2 separate regions of the Homo sapiens genome follow, and region 1 is linked to region 2. The links are contacts of gene promoters, found by promoter capture Hi-C in blood cells and fetal thymus (Javierre and others, 2016). All regions are on one chromosome and are shown on one strand. Each heading gives the region's core, a stretch centred on a gene start or on the middle of the fragment in contact. The rest is flanking DNA. Distances are from core to core; before and after follow the strand shown. Region 1 holds the start of FOXK2-AS1 (FOXK2 antisense RNA 1). Region 2 holds the start of CYBC1 (cytochrome b-245 chaperone 1).

Evidence for each region. Contacts are between HindIII fragments. The CHiCAGO score rates a contact against its expected background, and 5 or more counts as called.
Region 1: the fragment with the promoter of FOXK2-AS1 here is called in contact with the fragment with the promoter of CYBC1 in region 2 in 1 of 17 cell types (M2 macrophages); the score reaches 5.1 in M2 macrophages.

What each region holds. Positions count from the first base shown.
Region 1 is chr17:82,587,172-82,592,584 of GRCh38, forward strand. FOXK2-AS1 (FOXK2 antisense RNA 1) reads right to left here and starts at 1,251. Exons shown (of 3, transcript XR_001753132.3): 1 at 1,085-1,251; 2 at 59-303. It overlaps FOXK2 (forkhead box K2), which reads left to right. Exons shown (of 9, transcript NM_004514.4): 8 at 1-101. RefSeq lists silencers at 348-548, 4,622-4,916. The HindIII fragment of the contact is 9,921 bases long and covers 1-2,004 here.
Region 2 is chr17:82,448,487-82,452,407 of GRCh38, forward strand. It overlaps CYBC1 (cytochrome b-245 chaperone 1), which reads right to left and starts at 2,266. Exons shown (of 7, transcript NM_001033046.4): 1 at 2,214-2,266; 2 at 684-806. The coding sequence starts at 768. RefSeq lists silencers at 607-656, 1,967-2,326 and an enhancer at 1,077-1,336. The HindIII fragment of the contact is 1,869 bases long and covers 1,147-3,015 here.

The DNA.
Region 1 (5,413 bases), core at 1-2,500, 140 kb after region 2:
GGCACCTCTAGGTCAACACCAGCTACCAATAAAAACTGTAACACAAAACGGCACTCACGTGGCATCAGTCCCCACTGCGGTCCACGGCCAGGTGAACAATGGTAAGACATGCTGGTCGGTGGCTCCCCGTGGCTGTGGGTACTGGGAGCAGAGCCCCTTCTCACTCGTGGTTTCGGTTCTGACTGTAACAATTTTAGCTTTTGTCTGAGGCAATGTTTGCATTTCGAAGCTGCAGGAAATCTAGTCATGCTGGGGAAGTGGTCGTGGAGTCGGCCGTCATGGGATTCCCGTGGGAGGACCTGCCTGAAAAGAGATGAGAGTTTCTAATACATTGAGAGGGAAAAATACTCTCGCCTCTTGTAGATTTCCTGGGTGTGGCCTGGAAGCGGCCTGAAACGGCGGGAGCCGCCGCGTGTCTTTTCCCTTGGCCTCGCGCGCCCTGTGGCCTGTGGCGGTGCTATGCTGCTGAGGGTGGGAGAGAGGCTGCTTTTCTGTGCGCTTTGCTCTCAGAGTCCGTCCGAGGCCGGTGCACAGAAAACCGCACGGATGTTCTGACATTGACAAGTGGAGACACCAGAACCTCCGCGCCGACACCGGGTTATCTACCTTCGCCCTGCCCTGTGGAGTGTGGAAAGGGTGGGAGTCCCTGCTGGCTGCCGAGTCAACTCTGGCATTGGGGCCTGGCTCAGGTGTGGGCTCCCGCTGCTCTGGGTTGGGTACATGTGGGCTGTTGCCGGCTGTGTGGCTGATCCTGGCGCTTGCGGGATCTCAAGCAGGCAAATCCGAAGCTACCGACTAAAACTGTCTCTGTGCCCACGACACGCTTTCTTTGAAAGAGGGTACAGGTCAGAAGGCTTTATCACGACGTTTGAATCCTTACCGAACGCTACGAACAGAGACCTTGAAACCTGCAGGTACCTCCTACTCTGACTCAGCACCACCCTGCCTCTCCCCAAATTTATGGAAGAACAAGGTCTGGAACCTTTTCTAGGGAAGACTGACTACCTGGGGTTTTTTTTGTTTTTAAGTAATAGCAACACTTGCTGCCTGTAGATAGATCGCAGAGTTTGCAGTCATCAGTTACCTGTTTGAATGCCTTCGTCCCCAAGCCCTGTGTCTCCTCCTTCTCTTCTCTCTGGGTAACTGTGGCTGTGGATGCTCTAAGGTGATAAACCTGGTGGCACTGCAGGTAGCTGGGAGGAGATGGAAGCCGGGAGGGCTGGCGATTGGAGGGCAGGCGGTTGGAGGGCTGGCTATTGGAGGGCAGGCGGTTGGAGGGCTGGCGGTTGGAGGGCTGGCGGTTGGAGGGCAGGCGGTTGGAGGGCAGGCGGTTGGCTTTCTGGTCTTAGTCACTCCCAGTCTGAAGACAAGGCAGAGGCCTAGTGATTCCCAGATTCGATATGTGTCAGAATCACCCAGAAGGCTTGGCTGTTAGAGGCCAGAGTGCTGCGTTCCCCAGAGTTCCCGACTAGGCCTGTCTGGTGTGGGGCCCAAGAATGCATTTCTGAAACAGTCCAGGTCTGCCAAGAGCCTCCGGTGCAGGTCAGAGGCTTTCTGGGTCCACCTCTCTTAGAAGCAGTTTGAAAAACCGTATCCCTGCCTGGTATAGTGCCTCACGCCTGTAATCCCAGCACTTTGGGAGGTCGAGGTGGGTGGATCACGAGGTCAGGAGTTCAAGACCAGCCTGGCCAACATGGTGAAACACCATTTCTACTAAAAAAAAAAAAAAAAAAACAAATTAGCCGGGTCTGGTGGCGGGTGCCTGTAGTTGTAGCTTCTCGGGAGGCTGAGGCAGGAGAATCGCTTGAACCCGAGTGTGGAGGTTCCAGTGAGATGAGATCATGCCACTGCACTCCAGCCCGGGCGACCGTGCGAGACTCTGTCTCAACAAAAAAAGAAAAACGGTATCCTTTTTATGTATTTAAGTTATCTGGAATTTTTCATTATAAATTTAAGCAAGTGTTTTAATTTTTCACTATTGAAAATATTGATGTTTTAAAATAAAGCTTTTACGGGATTATTTTCAGTGTACTACTGGACTCCAAATACAGACATCATGAGATGTCCACTTGCCCACGTGTGGACACACAGGCAGGAGCGGCCCAGATCCTCCCTTGTCTGTGGCCTGGTCTTTCCATCTCACATTCCCTAACAGGTTTTGTACGAGTCACATACTTTAGGCTTAAATGTCATTTATTAGTCATATCTTTTCTCTGCAGCAATAAAATATAGATATAAATATTAAAGTTTGTCTATGAGTAACAAAATTGATAAAACCCAAAAATATAACAAATTCTTATAAAACCAAAAATTAAAATGTTACTGAAGATGCCTTTCTTAGTGTATTTAGCTTTAAAGGAAACCACCTGATTCGTTCTGTATTCACTGATGGTTGCACAGTCCTAGTGTCAACACTGAGGGCCTGTTTCCACTCAGGAAGGAGAGGACAGTGTCAGCACTGAGGGCCTGTTTCCACTCAGGAAGGAGAGGACAGTGTCAGCACTGAGGGCCTGTTTCCACTCAGGAAGGAGAGGACAGTGTCAGCACTGAGGGCCTGTTTCCAGATGAACGTGAAAGTCTGTCAGTGATCTTGGCTGGGTGTGGTGGCTCACGCCTGTAATCCCAGCACTTTGGGAGGTGGAGGTGGGCGGATCACTTGAGATCAGGAGTTGGAGACCAGCCTGGCCAACATGGTGAAACTCCGTCTCTACTAAAACTACAAAGATTAGCCGGGTGTGGTGGCACATTCCTGTAATCCCTGCTACTCTGGACGCTGAGGCAGGAGAATCGCTTGAACCTGGGAGATGGAGGTTGCAGTGAGCCGAGTTCAGACCACTGCACTCCAGCCTGGGCAACACAGCGAGACTCCATCTCAAAAAAAAAAAAAAGTCTTGTCAGCACCAGTATTTCCTATTATTGCTTTCATGCTCCATCCCATAGTTTTCATCCCCAAAGCCAGTGCCCAGTTGAGCAGATGAGAGAGGCTGTTCAGAGAGAGGAGGTGGCAGATGGGCTTTAAGAAAAGACTTCAGGACCAAGAGGAGATTCTGGAAATGATTTTCCTTAAAACAGTGTCGGCTACAGCCTGGATGCTGAACACCTAGGATGAGAACCACTGCACAGGTGCTCATAATTTTGGCCTCTTGTAGTCTTTTATTTTTTATTTGGGAGGTAGTGTCTCACCATGTTGCCCATGCTGGTCTCAAGCTCCGGGGCTCAAGCAGTCTGCCCACCTCGGCCTCCCAACGTGCTGAGATGACAGGGTGAGCCACCGCCTCTGGCCAGCACGTCTTTTCATGTACTTTATGGTTATTTGTGTATCTTCTTTGAAGAAATTTTTTTTAAGTCCTTTGCCCATCATTTAATTGGGTTGTCTTTTTGTTGTGAAATTTGTAGTTCTTTATTCATATGTAGAGATTTCAGGCCTTTTCAGACATGTAGGTGTAACTCAGAGACATTGCAGGGTTGGTTCCAGACCACTGCAAAAAAATGAATATTGCAGTAGAGCTGCCAGTCACATGAAATTTTTGGGTTCCTACTATATTAAGCAATTATGTTTATACTAAATTGTAGTGTAGTGTATTACCCCAAGGAAAATGTAGTATTTTTACTGAGGAATTATGTGGATGTGGCCGAGTTTTCTGACCCAAGCATGGGGTTAGAATGTCCTGTGCAGGGAGGGACTGCACAGGCTGCCTGAGACTCTCCCAGGGGTACCAGAGGGCTCAGCACCACGAGCAGATAGGCCGAGGCTGGGCTGCCTGCCCTAAGGGGGTTCCATCCTCACCCTGGCCCCAAGGGCAGCCTGGGCCGGTTCTGCCTCTGCCACCAGCTGCTGTGGGACCCGGGGCTCAGGGCTTGGCCCCTGCGTGTGTCGTGAAGACAGTGCTGACAGATGGGAGGTGGGGCTGACAGGACGAGGGGTCAGGATGTTCCGGCCATGCACTGTAGCCCTGGCCTTGCAGGACAGCAGGTGGCTTGGTGGGATGATAGGTGAGTTCCGTGGGCAGGCGCAGGGCATGAGCTGCCAGTGTCTTCCTGGAAGGTGACTCTGGGGTTGTCGCTCCAGCTGGAGTGTACCCTCATTCCTGCTTCCATAGGGGTCTCCATGGAGGCCTCATTCAAACACAGGCGAGCCCATCCCTGGCCTGTCAGGTTCACCAGGGTGGCCCCTGGTCCCGTTGTCGCCGTTGTCCACACCCTGCCCACCTGCCAATGCTCCTGTGTCCCCTGCTCTGCTCCAGGGCCCCAAACCCTGTGCAGAGCTGGGGTGCATCATGCTGCCGCCCCATGGAGAAGGCCTGGAGGAGATGGAAGCCGGGAGGCTTCCTCTTACAGGAAGGGAAGCCCCAGAAATGTGCCTGGCACCAAGAAACTGCTCCAAGCTTGTTCCAGAGTGTGGGGAGGGCTTGAGGCCTCCCCTTTTTGAGTACATGGAAAGGAAAGCCTGGCATTTTCTGGAAACGCTCCCAAGTCTCCCTGGCAGGGAGATGTGGGAAGAGTCCAGGCGCCCAAGCTCTTGCATATTCACTTCCTCCCATCACACGTGCTGTGTACAAGCACCCTCAGAGCTCGCTTTGGGAGACCCCTGCCTCAGGGCTGCGGGTGCCGCCGTCCACACCACAGGCCCTTCTGCTTCCTGTTTCCAAAGCTCATCTCCTGTCTCTGGGCTGCAGGCGCTGTTTCTGGTTTACTGGCACAACTGTGGTTGTGTTTTTGTCAATGACTTCATCTTTGCTGCTGTTGTTTTGAGATACTGTCTTGCTCTGTCACCCAGGCTGGAGTGCAGTGCCGAGATCTCAACTCACTGCAGCCCCGACCTACTGGTCTCAAGCCATCCTCCTGCCTCAGCCTCCCAAGTAGCTGGGACTACAGGTGTGCAGCACCACATCCAGCTAAGTTTTTGTATTTTTTGTAGAGACAGGGTCTCACTATGTTGCCCAGGCTGGTTTCAAACTCCTGGACTCTGGTGATCCTCTAGCCTTGGCCTCCCAAAGTGCTGGGATTACAGGTACGAGCCAGCATACCCAGCCAGTGTTGTCGTTTTGATTTGGGAGTTCGGGGCTGAGCTGTGTTTGGCCAGGGCCTCGCCTGCTCAGTGTGCTCCTGGGCTGAGCTGCGGTCCTGGAGCATCTCTTGGCTCACATATTGACTCCTCCGGCCTCTCTACTGTCCTGGTCCTTCATGGGGCTCACATGTGTGTCCTCTTGTTTTCTTTCTGTCACCTTCTTAAGGGTTCACAGATCACTGTCAGTGGAAGGTGTTGCCACAGCTCAAGCCTCACAGTGGAGGAACCTCATGAGGCCCTTCACGGGGCCACTCCCTGTCTGGACAGGCCTGCCTGACCAGCCCTGCTGGGAAGCCTGGGCTTTGCTGCTGCTTCACCCTGCGACATTCTCCTCAGGCCCTGCCT
Region 2 (3,921 bases), core at 1,016-3,515:
GTTAGTGGACTGTGAGTCCTACGAAGAGGTCTGAGGACCAGGGAGGAGGAGACATGGGAACCCACGATCACCCATCACGTGGTTAGTGGACTGTGAGTCCTACGAAGAGGTCTGAGGACCAGGGAGGAGGAGACATGGGAACCCACGATCACCCATCACGTGGTTAGTGGACTGTGAGTCCTACGAAGAGGTCTGAGGACCAGGGAGGAGGAGACATGGGAACCCACGATCACCCATCACGTGGTTAGTGGACTGTGAGTCCTACGAAGAGGTCTGAGGACCAGGGAGGAGGAGACATGGGAACCCACGATCACCCATCACGTGGTTAGTGGACTGTGAGTCCTACGAAGAGGTCTGAGGACCAGGGAGGAGGAGACATGGGAACCCACGATCACCCATCACGTGGTTCAAAACAAGTACAAAGGAAAATATGGTGACCTCAGAAAAGCTCATAGAGTATATTAAATACGCTGGGTGTTAGTGATTAAAAGGGGACAAAACAGACATGCATTATCTGTAAAACCAAGTACACCAGATAGAATTTGAATGGATACAAAGAAACAAAATAGCCATTAGATTTCAAGGTAATAGAAAAAAGAGAAAATATTTTGTTTCATTTTCATCCTTTTTGAAAGTCAGGCTTCCGGTTCTGGGGTTCTGGGGAGGGACGTGGAGAGCCTTACCAACCAGCAGGGACCAGGACCGGATGCCTGGAGCCCTCTTCAGATGGAGGCGGGAGCTGGTGCGGGTCTCCACCTGCAGGTACATCCCGAGAGGGCAGCACCACTCTCTACAGGAGGAGGGGTCTGGGAACAGACAGAGGCAGCTGAGCCCTTGGGCCTGCACACAGGCAGGCGCCCACGCCATCAGGCCCAGTCTGGAGGCCAAGAGCAGGTCCCCCAACTAAGTCACCTGCAGCCCCAGACACCATCAGCCAGTCTCACCTGGTCTCTGTGGTTGGGCACGTCACTGGATCCCCCAGAGACCCCGTTTCCTGTGTAAGGAAGGCCCTTTTCCGTTCACAGCGACACCGACTGCGCGGGGGCTGTTTCCCGCTCAGACTCACGAGCTACAGCTGCATCACCACCTGCCCCGTCCTGTCTGGAAACCTTATGTCCTGAGGCCGCTAGCCCCCAGCAGCCTTTAAGCTTCTAGCATCTGTGGGCACCCCCTCTCCCCTGTGCTGGCCTCCACCAAGAAAGGAACTGAAAGTCCCATCATGGCTTCCGGCCGTACTGGCTCTCGCACTGGCATGGACCAACGATCTCAGCTCTCTCTCTGCCCTCCTCCACCTGCTGAAAGTTCAGACTGCACAGTAGAGGGTCCCAAAGCGGCCAGAACCGACGAGTCACCAAAGGGGCTAATCTTCCACAGCGGAGTTCCGCACGGGCGCAGCAGCCCTGCCACTTCACCGTACGCTCCCAACACTGGCCCCAGGGACCCCGTTCTGGTAGTTTCTCAGGGCTTTCCCTGTGAAGTCAAATCAAATTTCTGACATTAAGTAGGGGGTTCAGGCTGGGCGCGGTGGCTCAGGCCTGTAATCTCAGCACTTTGGGAGGACGAGGCGTGCGGATTGTTTGAGTCACGGAGTTCAAGACCAGCCAGGGCAACGTGGCGAAACCCCGTCTCCACAGAAAATACATAAAACAGCCCGGTGTGGTGGTGTACGCCTGTGGTCCTAGTTATTCAGGAGGCTGAGCTGGGAGGATCACCTGAGGCCGGGAGGTGGAGGCTGCAGTGAGCAGAAATCGTGCCACTGGACTCCAGCCTGGGTGACAGAGTGAGACCGTGTCTCAAAAAAATAAAAAATAGTGGGTTCAAATCACACAAACCAATCCTAGATGCTGGTATATGACTGGGCTCCCTCCCGGGCCTCAGTTGCCTCATTGCTCCCGAAACACCCGGCATTCCACATCCAAATGCACACACACACGCACACTCGCGGACACAAGCACACGCGCGCTGGCAAAGCCGCCCGCGCCGCTAGTCGCACCGAGCGCTCGTTTCTTTGTCCGGATCGGGGGCGCTCCCGCCGCCGGGGCCAACCTGCAGCGGAACAGGCGCGAGGCCGCCCGCGACGGGCACGGCGGGACACGGAACAGCCGGCAGGCGGGCCCAGGACGCAGACCCCTCCCGGAGTGGGCCTAAGGGTGCCGGGACGCGCGGCACGGAGCGGGAAGGAAGTGCGGAGCCCACCCAGCCCAGCCGCCTACCGAGAGCACAGCGGTCCCCGCGCCGCAGCAGAGAGACGCGAACCGGCGGGGGCGGGGCCGCGCGCACTTCCGGGATTGGAGCGGAGCCGAGCCGACTTTCGGGGGCGGGGCCGCGCGCGCTTCCGGGATTGGGGGCGGGGCCGCGCGCGCTTACGGGATTGGGGCGGGGCCGCAAGCATTTCCTGGATGGGGCGGAGCCGAGCGGATTTCCGGGATCCGGGCGGAGCCGCAGGAGGAGGCGGGTGGTTCCTGCTAAAGAAGCCAGTTTTCTTGAAAAAAAGAAACGTGCGGGGAAACGTATCCGACAGCAAAGAACTTACCAAGGACTATGAACGTCTTGCTAACATAGAAGCGAAACTGAAGCGGTTCTCATTGCCAAAAAAGAAGATTTGAGCATGAATAAGAACAGGAATTCGAGTGAATTTAAAATCCTCAGATGCTCCAGTCTGTAATTCATAATAATGTATTTTTTAACTCTGTTCACCTTTGGAGGATGCTGGTAAGCTCACCCCAGTTTGTGGCCTGGTTAATAAAAGGAAAGCATCAAGCATTTGTCCTGCCTTTATGAAATTTACAGCAGAGTAACCAAATACTGCATGAGAAGAATTTCTCATTATAGAAGTTTTCCCGCTAATAAATGAAGAAGAAACAGTAGGATTAAAACATCACCCTATGAATTAACGGACCTAGGCAATGTCATCAATGACTGCTAATTAACATCGCAAAAAGGTCAGTTAGATATCAGAAGTACACAACACTATGAAGTAGTCTTGCCAGAAAAAATTTAACCTGAATGTGAACAAGCTTCTAGAGTGAATTACTGGAAATGTGGAAGACAAGACTGTACTAAAGGATTCTACAAGGATACAGTCAGCAATTCGAAACCTCAACCATCTGAATGGACCCTTCCGCTTGGCCAAGAGCATTCCCAAGTTATCCTGAAAAACTAGCTCAGGCAGTGATGGGAAGGGGGAGACAGACATACCTCACTCCCTCCTCCCTTTTGGAATTCAGGCACACAGCTGACCAGCATTCACATTAAAACAGATCTTGAGGTGGCCAGGTGCGGTGGCTCACGCCTGTAATCCCAGCACTTTGGGAGGCCAAGGTGGGCAGATCACGAGGTCAGGAGATTGAGACCATCCTGGCTAACACAGTGAAACCTCATCTCTACTAAAAACACAAAAAAATTAGCTGGGCGTGGTGGCGGGTGCTCATAGTCCCAGCTACTCGGGAGGCTGAGGCAGGAGAATGGCGTGAACCCGGGAGGCAGAGCTTGCAGTGAGCCGAGATCGTGCCACTGCTCTCCAGCCTGGGCAACAGAGTGAGACTCCATCTCAATAAAAAATAACAAAACAAAACAAAAACAGATCTTGAAGTTGACAAAGTAGACTCTGTAGCAATGACGCCAAATTCCAGCCTGACTCTGGTATAGGACTACATGACAGATAGGAAGCCTTGGAAGAAATGGAAGTACTTTACCCCACATTAAATTTCTTCGACTTATTTTGAAATAGCCCTGCAAAGCTGTCCCTTGTGAAGAAAATCTACATTCTGTAGCGAATCCCCGTTCCTTTCCAGGTCTTTTTCCTGCTTCAGGGAGAACTCTGATAAGAAGCACTTACAATCTATTCTCTCTGAAGCCTGCTACCTGGAGACTTCCTCTGCTTAATGGAAATCTTGGTCTCCACAAACCCTTATCTTAACC